Regions from separate parts of the Homo sapiens genome. Here regions 2, 3 and 4 are each linked to region 1. The links are contacts of gene promoters, found by promoter capture Hi-C in human tissues and cell types (Jung and others, 2019). All regions are on one chromosome and are shown on one strand. The core of a region is centred on a gene start or on the middle of the fragment in contact, and the rest is flanking DNA. Distances in the headings are between cores, read along the strand shown.

Evidence for each region. The method cuts DNA at HindIII sites, captures the fragments that hold promoters and counts their contacts. A contact is called where the count stands out against the background at its distance.
Region 2: the fragment with the promoter of ZCCHC8 here is called in contact with the fragment with the promoter of VPS37B in region 1 in 1 of the 25 tissues and cell types used here (aorta).
Region 3: a contact is called between a fragment that was not itself captured here and the fragment with the promoter of VPS37B in region 1, in 1 of the 25 tissues and cell types used here (aorta).
Region 4: a contact is called between a fragment that was not itself captured here and the fragment with the promoter of VPS37B in region 1, in 1 of the 25 tissues and cell types used here (pancreas).

The regions. Positions count from the first base shown.
Region 1 is chr12:122,894,303-122,897,698 of GRCh38, reverse strand. VPS37B (VPS37B subunit of ESCRT-I) reads left to right here and starts at 1,575. Exons shown (of 4, transcript NM_024667.3): 1 at 1,575-1,747. The coding sequence starts at 1,637. RefSeq lists a silencer at 1,432-1,581 and an enhancer at 1,762-1,911. The HindIII fragment of the contact is 16,898 bases long and covers 1-3,396 here.
Region 2 is chr12:122,499,164-122,502,559 of GRCh38, reverse strand. ZCCHC8 (zinc finger CCHC-type containing 8) reads left to right here and starts at 1,628. Exons shown (of 14, transcript NM_017612.5): 1 at 1,628-1,918. The coding sequence starts at 1,720. RefSeq lists enhancers at 583-1,274, 1,210-1,389, 1,440-1,499, 1,700-1,779, 1,275-1,968 and 1 more and a silencer at 1,920-2,069. The HindIII fragment of the contact is 12,081 bases long and covers 1-3,396 here.
Region 3 is chr12:122,521,431-122,524,826 of GRCh38, reverse strand. It overlaps RSRC2 (arginine and serine rich coiled-coil 2), which reads left to right. Exons shown (of 10, transcript NM_023012.6): 2 at 2,528-2,684. Among named protein-coding and RNA genes, the nearest start is that of RSRC2, 3.8 kb to the left of the region's middle. The HindIII fragment of the contact is 5,664 bases long and covers 1-3,396 here.
Region 4 is chr12:123,167,179-123,170,574 of GRCh38, reverse strand. All of the region lies in intron 16 of MPHOSPH9 (M-phase phosphoprotein 9), which reads left to right. Among named protein-coding and RNA genes, the nearest start is that of PITPNM2, 18 kb to the right of the region's middle. The HindIII fragment of the contact is 3,215 bases long and covers 104-3,318 here.

The DNA.
Region 1 (3,396 bases), core at 326-2,825:
TTGGCGTGATGGCGCATGCCTGTAGTCCCAGCTACTTGGAAGGCTGAGGCAGGAGAATCGCTTGAACCCAGGAGGCGGAGATTGAGGTGAGCTGAGATCGCACCACTGCACTCCAGCCTGGACGACAGAGCAAGACTCTGTCTCAAAAAATAAAAAAAGCAATAGTTCCTCTAACTTTCATCATTTTTCTGCAAACACGAGCCCTTAGTACAACGGGCTGGAAGGAGAGAAGAGGTTGGCAGAGCCCAGCCTAACGTATGGATGGAGAACACAGACCTTATGTTTTACCCATGGAGTTGCAGAAGAATCAGCTTTATACACAAAGCCCCTAAGTCTGCCGATAAGCATTTGCTGAATGCCTCGACTGTGTTCAGAGCTGAGTTATGAGACGAGGTCAGTGTGTTATGATGCCAGCGTGGTGGACGCCAGACTGGGAGCCAGGAGACCTGCCAATTACTTGATTTTCAGAAACAAAGCAAAAGCCCAAAAAATTTCCCCTTCTCAGGGCTTCAGTTCCCTTATGTGTAAAATTAGGGGGCTGTCATGGTTAACCTCAGCCTTAGGTTTCTTCTAACTAGAACTGTGACAGATTCCAAAGTAGGATAATGAGTTCCCAGGCTCCTGGATCTTAAGAGGCTTCCCGGTAGCTGAGAGACTGAGAGCGACTGCACCCTAAATCGTGTTGTTTCTGAAAGAGCACAGGTTGGCCCACCTGGATGTCTGGGCACCTTCCTCTGAGGTGATGCAAAGGGGCCACTCAATGGGTCCTTGCTCAAAATGCTCCAGCCTTACTGGCCTTCTTCCCATTCCTGAATGCACCAAGTTAGTCCTGTCCCAGGGCCTTTGCACGTGCTGGTTTTGCTGCCTTGAGCTTCCTACAGGAATGGTGGCTGGTTCCTCCCTTCTCATCCTTCACATTTCCTTAGACGCCACCTTCTCCGAAAGTGCCATCTCTTACTACCCTAAAGGTCTTTTTATTTTCTTATTTCAGTGTCCATTCCCTTATTTGTGATCGCCTAATTATTTTACTTATTTCTTGTTTTGTTTGCGTCCTCTTTCATTCTGTTAGCTCCATGTAAGCAGGGGTCCGTTTTGCTTTATTCAGAACTGTATACTCAATGCCCAGTACAGAGTAGGTCTCAAAACATATTTGTTAAATGAATGACGTGGCAGCTCCACAATTCCAAGTAACCAATGACACCTAAAGTTGTTTCCCCATGAAGTCTCTGTCTTTTGGGTTCCGTGCATCGGGCTGGGCTCACAGGCTGCGGGAACTTCCTTCCCACTGCCTGTTTTCCTTGGATCGCGGTATCTCTCTTCCTGGAGGAAAAAGGCTCTTATGACCTCATGGCGCGCTCTCCCGAGCCGCAGTGACGTCATTAATGCGCTCACGCGTCACAGCCCAATCATAGGGCCCTTCCCCTCCCTTTAGAAGTCCCGACTGTCCCTGACACATTCCACTCCAAGCGAGCCGCGACACTTACGTCACGTCCGCCCGCCCGCGCGGTGATGACGTCACGACCCAGGGCTGGCGTCACGTGTCCCCCCCGCGGGGGGCGGCCCTTGAGGGCGGCGCTTCCGGTCGGCGGAGCCTGGTGGCCGCAGCGGCGGTGGCGACGACGGCCGAGACGTGGGGATGGCGGGCGCCGGGAGCGAAGCCCGGTTCGCCGGGCTGTCGCTGGTGCAGCTCAACGAGCTGCTGGAGGACGAGGGCCAGCTGACGGAGATGGTGCAGAAGATGGAGGAGGTGAGCCGAGCTGGGCTTAAGGCGGCGGCTGTGAGGCCTCGAGCGGGGTTCGCTCCTCGAACGGTGGCCGGAGGCGGAGGCGACCGCGGCGCCTCCGGTCGTGTTGAGGGGACTGGGCTAGAAATGGGGGCGCTTGGGGCGGGGTGCGGGAGCCAGGGAACCGCGACTGGTGCTTAGGCAGGAATAGGGGGCCTGAGAGGGGGTTTGAGGCACTGAGGGGACCGAGACTAGGGCGGAGGCGGGAAAAAGGGTCCTGAGACGGGGCTTGGGGAGCCGATTGGGGGTCCTGAGACAAGGTTTTGTGGGGCTGAGGACTTAAGGCTGGGTCTGAAGACTTAAGGCTGGGTCTGAAGTGGAGATTAGGGAGCCTGGAATGGGAATTTGGGGATTAGAGTGCTATCGTTGGGTCTAGGCGGAAGAGGACGGAACTGGGGGGATCTGAGATTGGTTTGGTCGGAGGAGCGGGGAGAGTAATAAGGGCTGAGTCGGAGGCGAGGATTAGGGGTGACTGAGGGGGACCAAGAGCTAGATCTGGTAGAGGTTGGGGGGTTTCCTTTGAGAGGAAAGGTTGGGGACAACCAGGGGGACTGAGGCAGCTATAGGGGATCAGAGTAGGTTTTGGGGGACTGAGTGGACTATCCAAATAGGACTCTTAGGAGAGGATTGAGGGTTCCAAGATGGGTTCGGGAGGCTGAGGGTCTGTAGCTGAGTCTATGAGGTGGTTCTGAGGCTCTTTAAGGGTTGGGCGAGGGTCCCCAGCCCAGGGTTTGGAGGCAGGAGTCCATGGTCATACCATAGCCAGGGTAAGGTTTGAAGGTTCCATGTATCTAAGGGGTCCCAATAATGCCCCTGGAGTCTGACTTCTTTTGAAGTGGCCCCAGCAGAGTTACGGGAGTTCGTGGATGGGCCTAAGGGTGGCGACAGGATACGTTTTTCTGTAAGGGTTGCCCCCTCCACCGAGGAAGGGAAGGTGGGAAATTTAGTGTGGCTGGCTTTGTACCACTGCGTCCCACGTGTCTGGGACTAAGGAAGGTTCCTGGAGCAGTTTCAGGAAGAAGTTAAAATGGGGGTTTGGGGCTGGCTGCCAACCCTCACCTCTGAGAGTCAAGCCTTGCCCAGCCCCTGGAAGGCATGTGCCAGCTCCTGTTTCTGGTTATCTTCCTTCACACCTTGAGGTGTGGTTTGCTCTCGGGTAACTGACTTCATCCTTGCAGATTTGCAGTGTGTGCTCCCTTTCTCTCAACCCATTTGGACTCATTCTCGGAAAGTCTGATCTTTTGGGTCTGGTTCTCCTCCAGGCAGGTGGGCCCAGGCTAATCCCAGCTCTTCCTGGCCCACCTACCACTCCTTTATGTCTCTGAAGTCTGAGCCTTCCCACGCCTACAGTGCTGAGCCTCTCACCCAGGAGCCCGTGTGGGGGCTTTTGGCTTTCTTTCCGAAGAGGGATTGTTCAGCACCAAGCCAGCCCCCTTAAAAGAGAGCTTGTATGGAGGTTGCACATTCAAAATCCCTGGAAAACCCTCAACAGATCATTGTCCGGAGCTACAGAGAGGCCACTGTAGTAAGATGGTATCAGTCTTTCCATTAATACACCCCTTGTATTCATGGGCTTTGTAACTTGACACATAATAACGTTGCTCCAAGATGCA
Region 2 (3,396 bases), core at 379-2,878, 400 kb after region 1:
GGGAGATCCTGTTGTCCACAAAAAGAAAAAAAAAATGTTAAAATGTGTAAGTGACTTCCCAATGTTGTAAACGGAAAGAGGCTTCCTTAAGGGCCTTTGAGCACTGACCTAGCAGTGTTCCAACCTCATCTTGCTCCACTCTGCCTTTTCACTCAACATGGTGGTCCTTACACCTAAGACACTCTTCCATCCTCCCACCCCCAACTTTGCCGATCCTTAAAGTCTCACTTCCTCACTTTACTGACTCCCACAGACTAGGGTGTTTGTTAAATATTCATAACTTCCTGTGTTTTTCACCTTTTTTTTTTTTTTTTTTTTTTTGAGACAGAGTCTTGCTCTGTCGCCCAAGCTGGAGTGCAGTGGCACGATTTCGGCTCACTGCAACCTCTGCCTCCCGGGTTCAAGCGATTCTCCTTCCTCAACCTCCTGAGTAGCTGGGATTACAGGCGTGTGCCACTACGCCTGGCTAATTTTTGTATTTTTAGTAGAGACAGGGTTTCTCCATGTTGGTCATGCTCGTCTTGAATTTCTGACCTCGTGATCCACCTGCCTCGGCCTCCCAAAGTGCTGGGGTTGCAGATGTGAGCCACCGCCCCCGGCCCACATTTCTTTGTGTGATCAATATCCATCAACAACCATCTCGACCCAAGAACAGGAACATTTATAATTATGGGGTTTTTGTTGCTTTTTGTGGACTACAGCCTTCGTGAGAGGAGGAATTACTCTATTGTGGTTACTCTTGTAACCATACTCAGGTCCTAGACAAGTGCCTGGCCCATCGAAGGTGTAAGTAAATAATGTGATTGAATGACAGAAAGCCTCAACAGACAAATAGTTGAGTCTAGCTAATCTTACATTAAAAACGAAGCAAGCTCAATAAACTAATCTACAACAGTCATCTCTGTAGCAAAGCTGGAGTTTCTTATTCTCTTTTATGTTTATTTTTATTCAGTTCCCTTTCAGGCTATGGAGTTCCTTATTCTCTGGTGTGGCACGCACACCAGAATCTGTGAGAAGCTATGCGTCGTGCTCTGATTTTTCACCCTTAGTTGCCTAACAGGAACATCCCATACTGGTTTTTGTTTTTCTTTTTCTTTTTGAGACAGGGTCTTGCTTTGTCTCCCAGGCTGGTGTGCAGTGGCGCCATCTGGGCTCAATGCAGCCTCGACCTCTTGGGCTCAAACCCTCCCGCCTCAGCTTGCCGAGTACTTGGGACTACAATCGCCCAGCTAATTTTTATATTTTTTTGTAGTGTCTGGGTCTCGCTCTGTTGCCCAGGGTGGTCTCCAACTCCTGGGCTCACGTGATCCTCCCACCTCTGCCTCCCGAGTAGTTGGTATTACAGGTGTGAGCCACCCCGCCCTGCCCCCAGATTGCTTTAGCGCATTCTGACCTACTCCAGCTTTCTTCACATTTCAAAAAGCACCAATCCCAGGATGCAATGCAGACAATGAGTACCAGTCGCTTAGAAACCACACGTCCCAGCATGCCGTCCTCCGGGCAATCGCAAGCCCGATAGGCCCCGCTGCATTCCGGGAGTTGTAGTCTCTAGCGACTGGCCCCGCCCCGTGTGCAGCTTTCGCGGCCTGCGTCTGGAGAAAACCCTAGCGGGTGGCTCCGTGCGGCCAGAGCTCTAGAGAGTGGTGCCGCCTTCCAACCTTCTTCCCCAAGCCCTGGTGGCCGGCTCCGCCTCTTCTCGAATCTTTTCCACAGCCCAAAATGGCCGCAGAGGTGTATTTTGGCGATCTAGAGCTCTTCGAGCCGTTCGACCACCCAGAGGAGTCGATTCCGAAGCCCGTTCACACTCGCTTCAAGGACGACGACGGCGACGAGGAGGACGAAAATGGGGTCGGCGACGCGGAGCTACGGGAGCGGCTTCGGCAGTGCGAGGAGACCATCGAGCAGCTCCGCGCCGAGAATATCCTTTCCTCTCGCTGGGCCCTGTCACCCGGGTGTGGGGCCGGGGCAGCGCCAGGCGTGGGGCCGGGGCAGCGCCGGGCGAGGGCGAGGGCGCGGGCGGAAGTTCCAGGAGGGCCAGAATTCCAAGTGCTTTCTGTCACCCGCCGGCGGACCGAGAGTCTAGGGTTCGGGGCGCGCAGGCTGCCTCGGCGCAGACCTCTTCCCCTCAGGGAGGCCGTCTCCTGACCAGACCCACTCCTGCCTCCCACCCGGGTGCCGTGTTTAGGGTTATTTTAGGCTGCTCACCTGACAGATTGTACACAAGCCCTTAATTGCCCCCCTCTGTTTGAGGTCGTGGTGAGGTTTCATATTTCGCAGCCACGCTCAAATTGTGCCGTCATGTTACAGTTGTAGGTGATGAAATACCGGCTGCTTAGACGCGGGATCGGTTTTTATACCGGGGCAAACGCTAGTGGTCCCAGAATGCAGAGTTGGGGGCCTCAAGGAATCCGGGTGTGCTGAGATAATTGGTTAATTGCTTGATTAAAATTGGGGATTAATTTTAGAGTTCTTCCACTCGGAGCTCGCTTCTGTGCTGAAGATGCTTTGCAACGCCTTGAGGAAAACGCGCCAAAGAAGTTTCTGTTAGACTTGAGTTACAAGATTGCAGATTTTTCTTGATTTGCTAGTATGTTTTTTTTTACGTTCGTAGAGTTTTATAGGTAGATAGATAACTTTGGTTCGGGTAGTTTTCCTTTTAAAATTTGTAGAGAACTGAAAGTGGCTGATATGTTAGCTTTTTTAGGGGGACGGGGTCGGGGAATGGAGTCTCAGTCTGTTGCCCAGGCTGGAGTGCAGTGGCGCGATCTCGGCTCACTGCAACCTCCGCCTCCCGGGTTCAAGCGATTCTCCTGCCTCAGCCTCCCGAATAGCTGGGATTACAGGCGCCCGCCACGGCGCCCAGTCAGTATATCAGTTTTTAAGGTTTGTGAAGCGCGATTTATTTTTTCAGAATGTCGTCTTCCTCCACATTGTGAGGAAAATTTTCAGAATACAAAAAGTTGAGGCCGGGCGCTGTGGCTCAAGCCTGTAATCCCAGCACTTTGGGAGGCCGAGGCGGGTGGATCATGAGGTCAGGAGGATCATGAGGATCAGGTGGATCATGAGGATCAGGAGGTCAGCCTGGCCAACATGGTGAAACCCCGTCTCTACTAAAAATACAAAATTAGCCGGGCGTGGTGGCGCGTGCTTGTAATCCCAGCTACTCAGGAGGCTGAGGCAGGAGAATCCCTTGAACCTGGGAGGCGGAGGTTGCAGTGAGCCAAGATCACACCATTGCACTCCAGCCTGGGCGACAGGGTGAGACTGTGTCTCAAAAAAAAAAAAAAAAAGTTGAAAGGATTCTACAGTGGACATCCATAGATTTATTCCAAATTCTAAAGTTGTTAACAGCTCGTTATACTGCATTCTCTTTATCACATAGTGGTTGTTGAAAGG
Region 3 (3,396 bases), core at 543-3,042, 370 kb after region 1:
AGTACTAAATTAAAGCTTAGAAAATTTCAGAGCAATTTTAATACTCAGTTTTTGGTAGGTTTTTTTCCTGGATACCTGTATTATGCTACTATAAAATATCCTCAGGGAAATAAAAGTTTTCCATGGCCTCAATGACCACCTATCATTCCTATTTGTTTAGTGTTAAGATGGTTTTTGTTGTTGCTCTGTAGTATATTTTACAGATGAAAATGGTTGATGATGTAAGTTTAAGTTAGCCTATGTCACAGGGAGGTTTCTCTGTTGTCCAGCTTTGTGATGTTAAGCATGAAGTTAAAGTTAGATAAACCATTGCCTGAAAACTGCCTAGGCTAAGCACTAGATTTTCCATGAGAAGGTTGTTTTCGATTCTAGTCTTGTTCTCTGCAAAAGTAAATGGGATTTGCCACTAGTTAAGGAATTCTGTCTCTGGCAAAAGTGTCGTGCAACTGAGAGAAGTAATAGCGGTGCTTAAAATTTTCGAGATCACTTCTGTTTACCAAGTGTAAGCTGTACAAACACTCAGCAAGTAATAAATGAGTCTGAAATAGTCCTCAAGGATAACGATGAAAAAAAAAAGTGTCCAGAATTCATTGTGAAAAATCAGAATCATCCTTAATGATACAGCATTATTTATTAGTAGTAAACAGTAAAGATACGGAGATGCAGTATCATTTTAAGCAAGTCAGCTAATGTTGCTGGATCTCATCTGTGAAACGAGAAAGTTGAACTCTATTCTAAGGGGTGAAAACCTTTCAGCATAAAAATTTTATGGTTCCAGAAGTCACCCAGACTGGAGAAATAAGTACATATACAATATGCTGGCATGAGAGCCTCCCTGGTAGTTAATTTCTTACTGTTCTTTTTGTGCCATTGTTAGAGGAATAACACGTAATTTATGTCTTTCATCTCATAATTGAACTGCAAAACCTTTCTGTTTTTAATTTATCATTTTATTCCCTAAGTCTAGCATTGGTTTTGGCACATTTTTGACCCTTAGTAAATACTTGTTGAAGTAACTCGACCTCTCACAACTTCATTTATTAAAGTACAATACACCCATTTATTGTACTTGATACTTGTTTAAAATTTGTTAAAATACAATACCCCCATTTATTGTACTTGATATTTGGTATTCATTTTCTGGACTAACTTTCCTAAAGGAGGAAGTTCTCTAATGTGATTCCTCCTGCTGAAGACTATCGATTCCCTATTTATTCAATCCAGATTCCGTTTGATGTTATACGTGAAAAGTCCATAAACTGTTTCTGTAAAGGGCCAGACGGTAAATATTTTTGGCTTTGTGGGCCATGTGCAGTCTCTGTCACATTCTTTCCCAGGCTGGAGGGGCAGTGGCGCAATCTTAGCTCACTTCAACGTCTGCCTCATGGGTTCAAGCCATTCTCCTGTCTCAACCTCCTGAGTTGCTGGGATTACAGGCACGCCCCACCACTCTTGGCTAATTTTTGTGTTTTTAGTAGAAGCAGGGTTTTACCATGTTGGCTAGGCTGGTCTCAAACTCCTGACCTCAGGTTATCCGCCTGCCTCAACCTCCCAAAGTGCTAGGATTACAGGCATGAGCCACAACACTGGCGTTTTAAGTGCCTTTAGTTTTAACAGTTCAGTCTTTACAGTGCTATTTACTGAAGTTATTTATTAAATATGCCTAAAATAGTTTTAAAAAACGTAAAAAACCATTCCTAGCTCAAGGCCATACAGAAACAGAATGAGGACCATAGCTTGCCAACCCTTCCTAAGTAATCAATTCCCCAGGTGTATCAATTATTTTATTTTCATGTTATCTTCTCTGGTCAGATAGCCGAGCATTGTCTACCTTCTGCATTAGTTGAAACTTGTAAAATTTATATTGTAATAATTACTTATAAAATGCTTTAAAGCAGAAACAACTTAATGTTTTCATAGCCCAGAGCACATGTGAGGAGAGGCAGACCATATTTTGCAGCAGCACTGTGCCAAGGGGCTGTTTTCATTAAAGAGGGTTAATGACATTAAGATGAGGTTCTCACTTAGGTAAGTTAATTTTCTGTTTATTATTTTATAATATTCTTAGGGCATTGTTTTAAGATTTTATCGTCTTGAGTATCTTTAAGCTTTAACAACTCATTTTTGATGTTTGACATGTATGCTAATTTAAAAGTATTGGTAAAGTCAGCTAAATGCATTCACACATCTAAAAAGGACTATTTTCTCTGCTTGAATGCTTATTAGAACTACTTGGAGCCCTTATTCCTCCCCCACCCCACCCCATGTTTTAAAAGTTATACAAATCATCGTTAGAAAATTAAAGATACATCAGTCTAAATATGTAGGTCTTGCTTTAGTATCAGGTTCGTCATTTCAAGCCATTCAGCCTTATTAGTGTACAAAGCACATTTAGTTACTTGGAAAGCAGGCATTCTGATTTATTGATTGTGGGGGGCTATCTTCCCTCCCTTTGTCCCTCTTTTAAGAAATTGAAAACATTTAAAATGTAATTAAGAACTTTAATCATTTGTTTTTAAACTTTTAGGCTAGTGATACAGAGCGAGATGGACTAGCCCCAGAAAAGACATCACCAGATAGAGATAAGAAAAAAGAGCAGTCAGAAGTATCTGTTTCTCCTAGAGCTTCAAAACATCATTATTCAAGATCACGATCAAGGTCAAGAGAAAGAAAACGAAAGTCAGGTATGAATTCTTAAAGGTGGTTACAACTCTCAGCATTTGTATAAGATATGTAGACCTGTTGTATAAGAAGACACATACATTTAGTTTGTTGGCTGGGCATGGTGGCTCAAGCCTGTAATGCCAGCACTTTGGGAGGCCAAGGCAGGCAGATCACCTGAGCCAGGACCAAAAATACAAAAATTGACACACTCTCAGCCCAATGCAACCTCCATCTGCTGGGTTCAGGCAGTTCTTCTGCCTCAGCCTCCTGAGTAGCTGGGATTATAGGCGTGCGCCACCACGCCTAGCTTATTTTTGTATTTTTAGTAGAGACTGGGTTTCACCATGTTGGAACATATCAAATATAATTCAACCTGTTTATTTTCTTTAGTTTTTATTTTTCTTAATGGCTTACCTCTCTCTATTAAACCCCCTTATGAATTTGCTGTAGACTAGGAAACTAGATGGGCTGGTCAGAATATATGTAAAATACTGAAAGTCTATGACCGTTTAAAAGATGTATCTAGGCTGCTTTATGTCCTGGTTTGCTCAGATTGCTTGATTTGTTTCACATGTGTGTTGTATTAATGTAGAATAATCCCACCCGTGCCATGAAAAAATTAGTCATTGGAAGAAGACTAATGGGAGTCATTTTTCTCCAGCATTAAGAGTTTTTTAAGATGAAATGTTTCTCCAACTTTGTTTATGGTGATTATTTTTTTTGTGTATTCAC
Region 4 (3,396 bases), core at 462-2,961, 270 kb before region 1:
TGTGGTGGCTCACGTCTATAATTTCAGCATTTTGGGAGGCCAAGGTGGGGAAATTGCTTGAGCCCAGGAGTTTGAGACCAGCCTGGGCAACATGGCAAAACCCTGTCTCTACAAAAAATATAAAAAGTTAGCGGCTAGACACAGTGGCTCACGCCTATAATCCCAGCACTTTGGTAGGCTGAGGCAGGTGGATCATGAGGTCAAGAGTTTGAGACCAGCCTTACCAACATGGTGAAACCCCGTCTCTACTAAAAATACAAAAAAATTAGCCAGATGTGGTGGCACGCAGCTGTCATCCCAGCTACTCACAGGGCTGAGGCAGGAGAATGGTTTGAACCTGAGAGGCGGAGGTTGCAGTGAGCCGACATCGAGCCACTGTACTCCAGCCTGGGTGACAGAGCGAGACTCTGTCTTAAAAAAAAAAAAGCTGGGTGTGGTGGTTGGTGGTACGCGCCTGTAGTCCCAGCTGCTCGGGAGGCTGAGGTGGGAGAATCACTTGAGCCTGAGGGGTCGAGGCTGTACTGAGCCATGATCATGCCACTGCACTTTAGCCTGGGGGACAGGGTAAAACCCTGTCTCAAAAAAAAAAAAAGACATTTAAAAATGTGTATTAATACATTATGCCTTCTGTGTAATTAAATATATAAAAATTGGTCTTATAATTAAAAACAAATTTTGCAAGATCGGGCTGGGCACGTGGCTCACACCTGTAATCCCAGCACTTTGGGAGGCCAAGGTGGGCAGATCACTTAAGGTTAGGAGTTTGGCCAACATGGTGAAACCCCGTCACTTCTAAAAATACAAAAATTAGCTGGGCACAGTGGTGGGCCCCTGTAATCCCAGCAACTGTGGAGGCTGAGGCAGGAGAATTGCTTGAACCTGGTAGGCAGAGGTTGCAGTGAGCTGAGATCACGCCACTGCACTCCAGCCTGGGTGACAGAGGAAAACTCCATCTCAAGAAAAAAAAAAATTGGCAAGATCTTAGCATTTATTAAAACTGAGAATGGGTGAGTAGATGCTTGTTATAGTATTCTTTGTAATTTTCCAAGAATGTTTGAAGATTTTTTTTTTTTTTTAAGACGGAGTCTCGCTCTGTTGCCCAGGCTGAAGTGCAGTGGTGCAATCTCGGCTCACTGCAAACTCCGCCTCCTGGGCTTATGCCATTCTCCTGCCTAAGCCTCCTGAGTAGCTGGGACTACAGGTGCCCGTCACCACACCTGGCTAATTTTTATTTTGCATTTTTAGTAGAGACGGGGTTTCACCATGTTAGCCAGGGTGGTCTCGAGCTCCTGACCTCGTTATCTGCCCGCCTTGGCCTCTCAAAGTGCTAGGATTATAGGCATGAGCCACTGAGCCTGGCCCTGAAATAGTTCTTAATTTAAAAACTGGGCCGGGCGCAGTGGCTCACGCCTGTAATCCCAGCACTTTGGGAGGCCAAGGTGGGTGGATCACGAGGTCAGCAGATCAAGACCATCCTGGCTAATAACATGGTGAAACCCCATCCCTACTAAAAACACAAAAAATTAGCCGGGCGTGGTGGTGGGCGCCTGTAGTCCCAGCTACTCGGGAGTCTGAAGCAGTAGAATGGTGTGAACCCAAGAGGCAGAGCTTGCCGTGAGCCGAGATCGCGCCACTGCACTCCAGCCTGGGCGACAGAGTGAGACTCTGTCTCAAAAAAAAAAAAACTGAGGGAAAGAGTGACTGGAGTTGAAGTGAATGTAGATAGAAGAGGCAGCCTCTAAAATGTTTGGTTGTGAAAGGGGACAGAGAGAAAACAAGAGTTGTTTCATGGTTTCTGGTGTTTCTTTGAATTTGACTCAAAAGTTTCACCTGTCAACGAAGGTGGGATGGGAGGTTTGAGGAGGGTGGAAAGGGTGTGAGATAGTCATGTTTGGAGAACTGAAGCTTGCTGGTTACAGAAAGTCATGTTGCCGGCCGGGTGCGTTGGCGCACACCTGTAATCCCAGCACTTTGGGAGGCTGAGGTGGGCGGATCATGAGGTCAGGAGATCGAGACCATCCTGGCTAACACGGTGAAACCCCGTCTCTACTAAAAATACAAAAAAATTAGCCGGGCGTGGTGGCAGGCGCCTGTAGTCCCAGCTACTTGGGAGGCTGAGGCAGGAGAATCGCTTGAACCTGGGAGGCGGAGCTTGCAGTGAGCCGAGATCACGCCACCGTACTCCAGCCTGGGTGACAGAGCGAGACTCCGTCTCAAAAAAAAAAAAAAAAAAGAAAGTCATGTTGCCAGGCGGTCAGGCGGTTTGGGGTGTCCGCTTGAGGTGGTGATGAGTCTGCCCAGCTGGTGGCTTTTTTCCAGCAAAGCTCAGTGGTAGGAGTTGAGACCTGAAGCGCGGCCTTTGTAGTCAGCCAGTCCTCAGATTTTGCTGCCAGTCAGGTGTGGTGAAAGGTGAGAGAGAAAGTATCGTGAGTGTGGACTTCAGGGTAGATCAAGAGGACCTAGTCAGACTAGGAGGGGTTGATAAATGGAAAATGGAGAGGCCAAGGATCGTAGGTCACGTTGCTGAAGCTTGAGGGCGGGAGGCAGAATAGGGGCACAGTCTTTGGAGTATTGGTTTCTTAAGGGGAGTGTGTTCTCTGGTTTTGACAAAAGCCAGCAAGTACCCTCTGAGGTGGCTGGCTGAGGAGTAGAGGGTCACCTCACTGGAGAGAGTGGTCAGGAAGTTGCCTAGTGTGAGAACAGGCATAGGTGTGGAGAAAACAAGGCAGGCTCTAAAGTCTGGGGAATGACTGGGGGTTAACATGATGGTGGGAACCTCAGATGAGCTGGGGGAGCAATGTCTAGAATTGCGCTGTTCAGTACAGTCCTGCCAACAGCCACTATTACTATTTAAATCAATCATGTCAACCTAAAATCAGTGACAGAGACTGACTCTCCAAAGAAATTTATTTGGAAATGTTGGGGGTTTGCAAGCTGGAGTACGCATGCTGTGGTGAACCATAAGCATGTCCAAAGGGGTTGGGACACAGGAAACTTTAAAAGACAAAGGGCAGTCCACAGTCCACTAAGCTATTTTAAAACAAAGACCACTGGTTACAGGAGCATGTTGCAGGCATTAGCATTAGCTCAGTGGTGGAGACATCCCTTGTTAGGGATGTTTCCTTGTACAAGCAGCTTATTATCTGGAATACTGTCGTTCTGAGGAATTCAGAATAGTTCCCATAATCAGCATCTGTGTGAGAGGCTGCTCCTTTGTGCCTCCCAGCTCCATTTTTTGGGAGTTTGACATTAGTGACTCCATTTTGATACTGAAAACTTTCATTATTAAAATTAACGTTTTATAATTGGTTCTTCAGTCTCAGCAGCCACATTTCAGGTGTTCAGTAGTGACACCTGACTTGTGACTGCTGCATTGGACAGTGCAGATAGCATTTC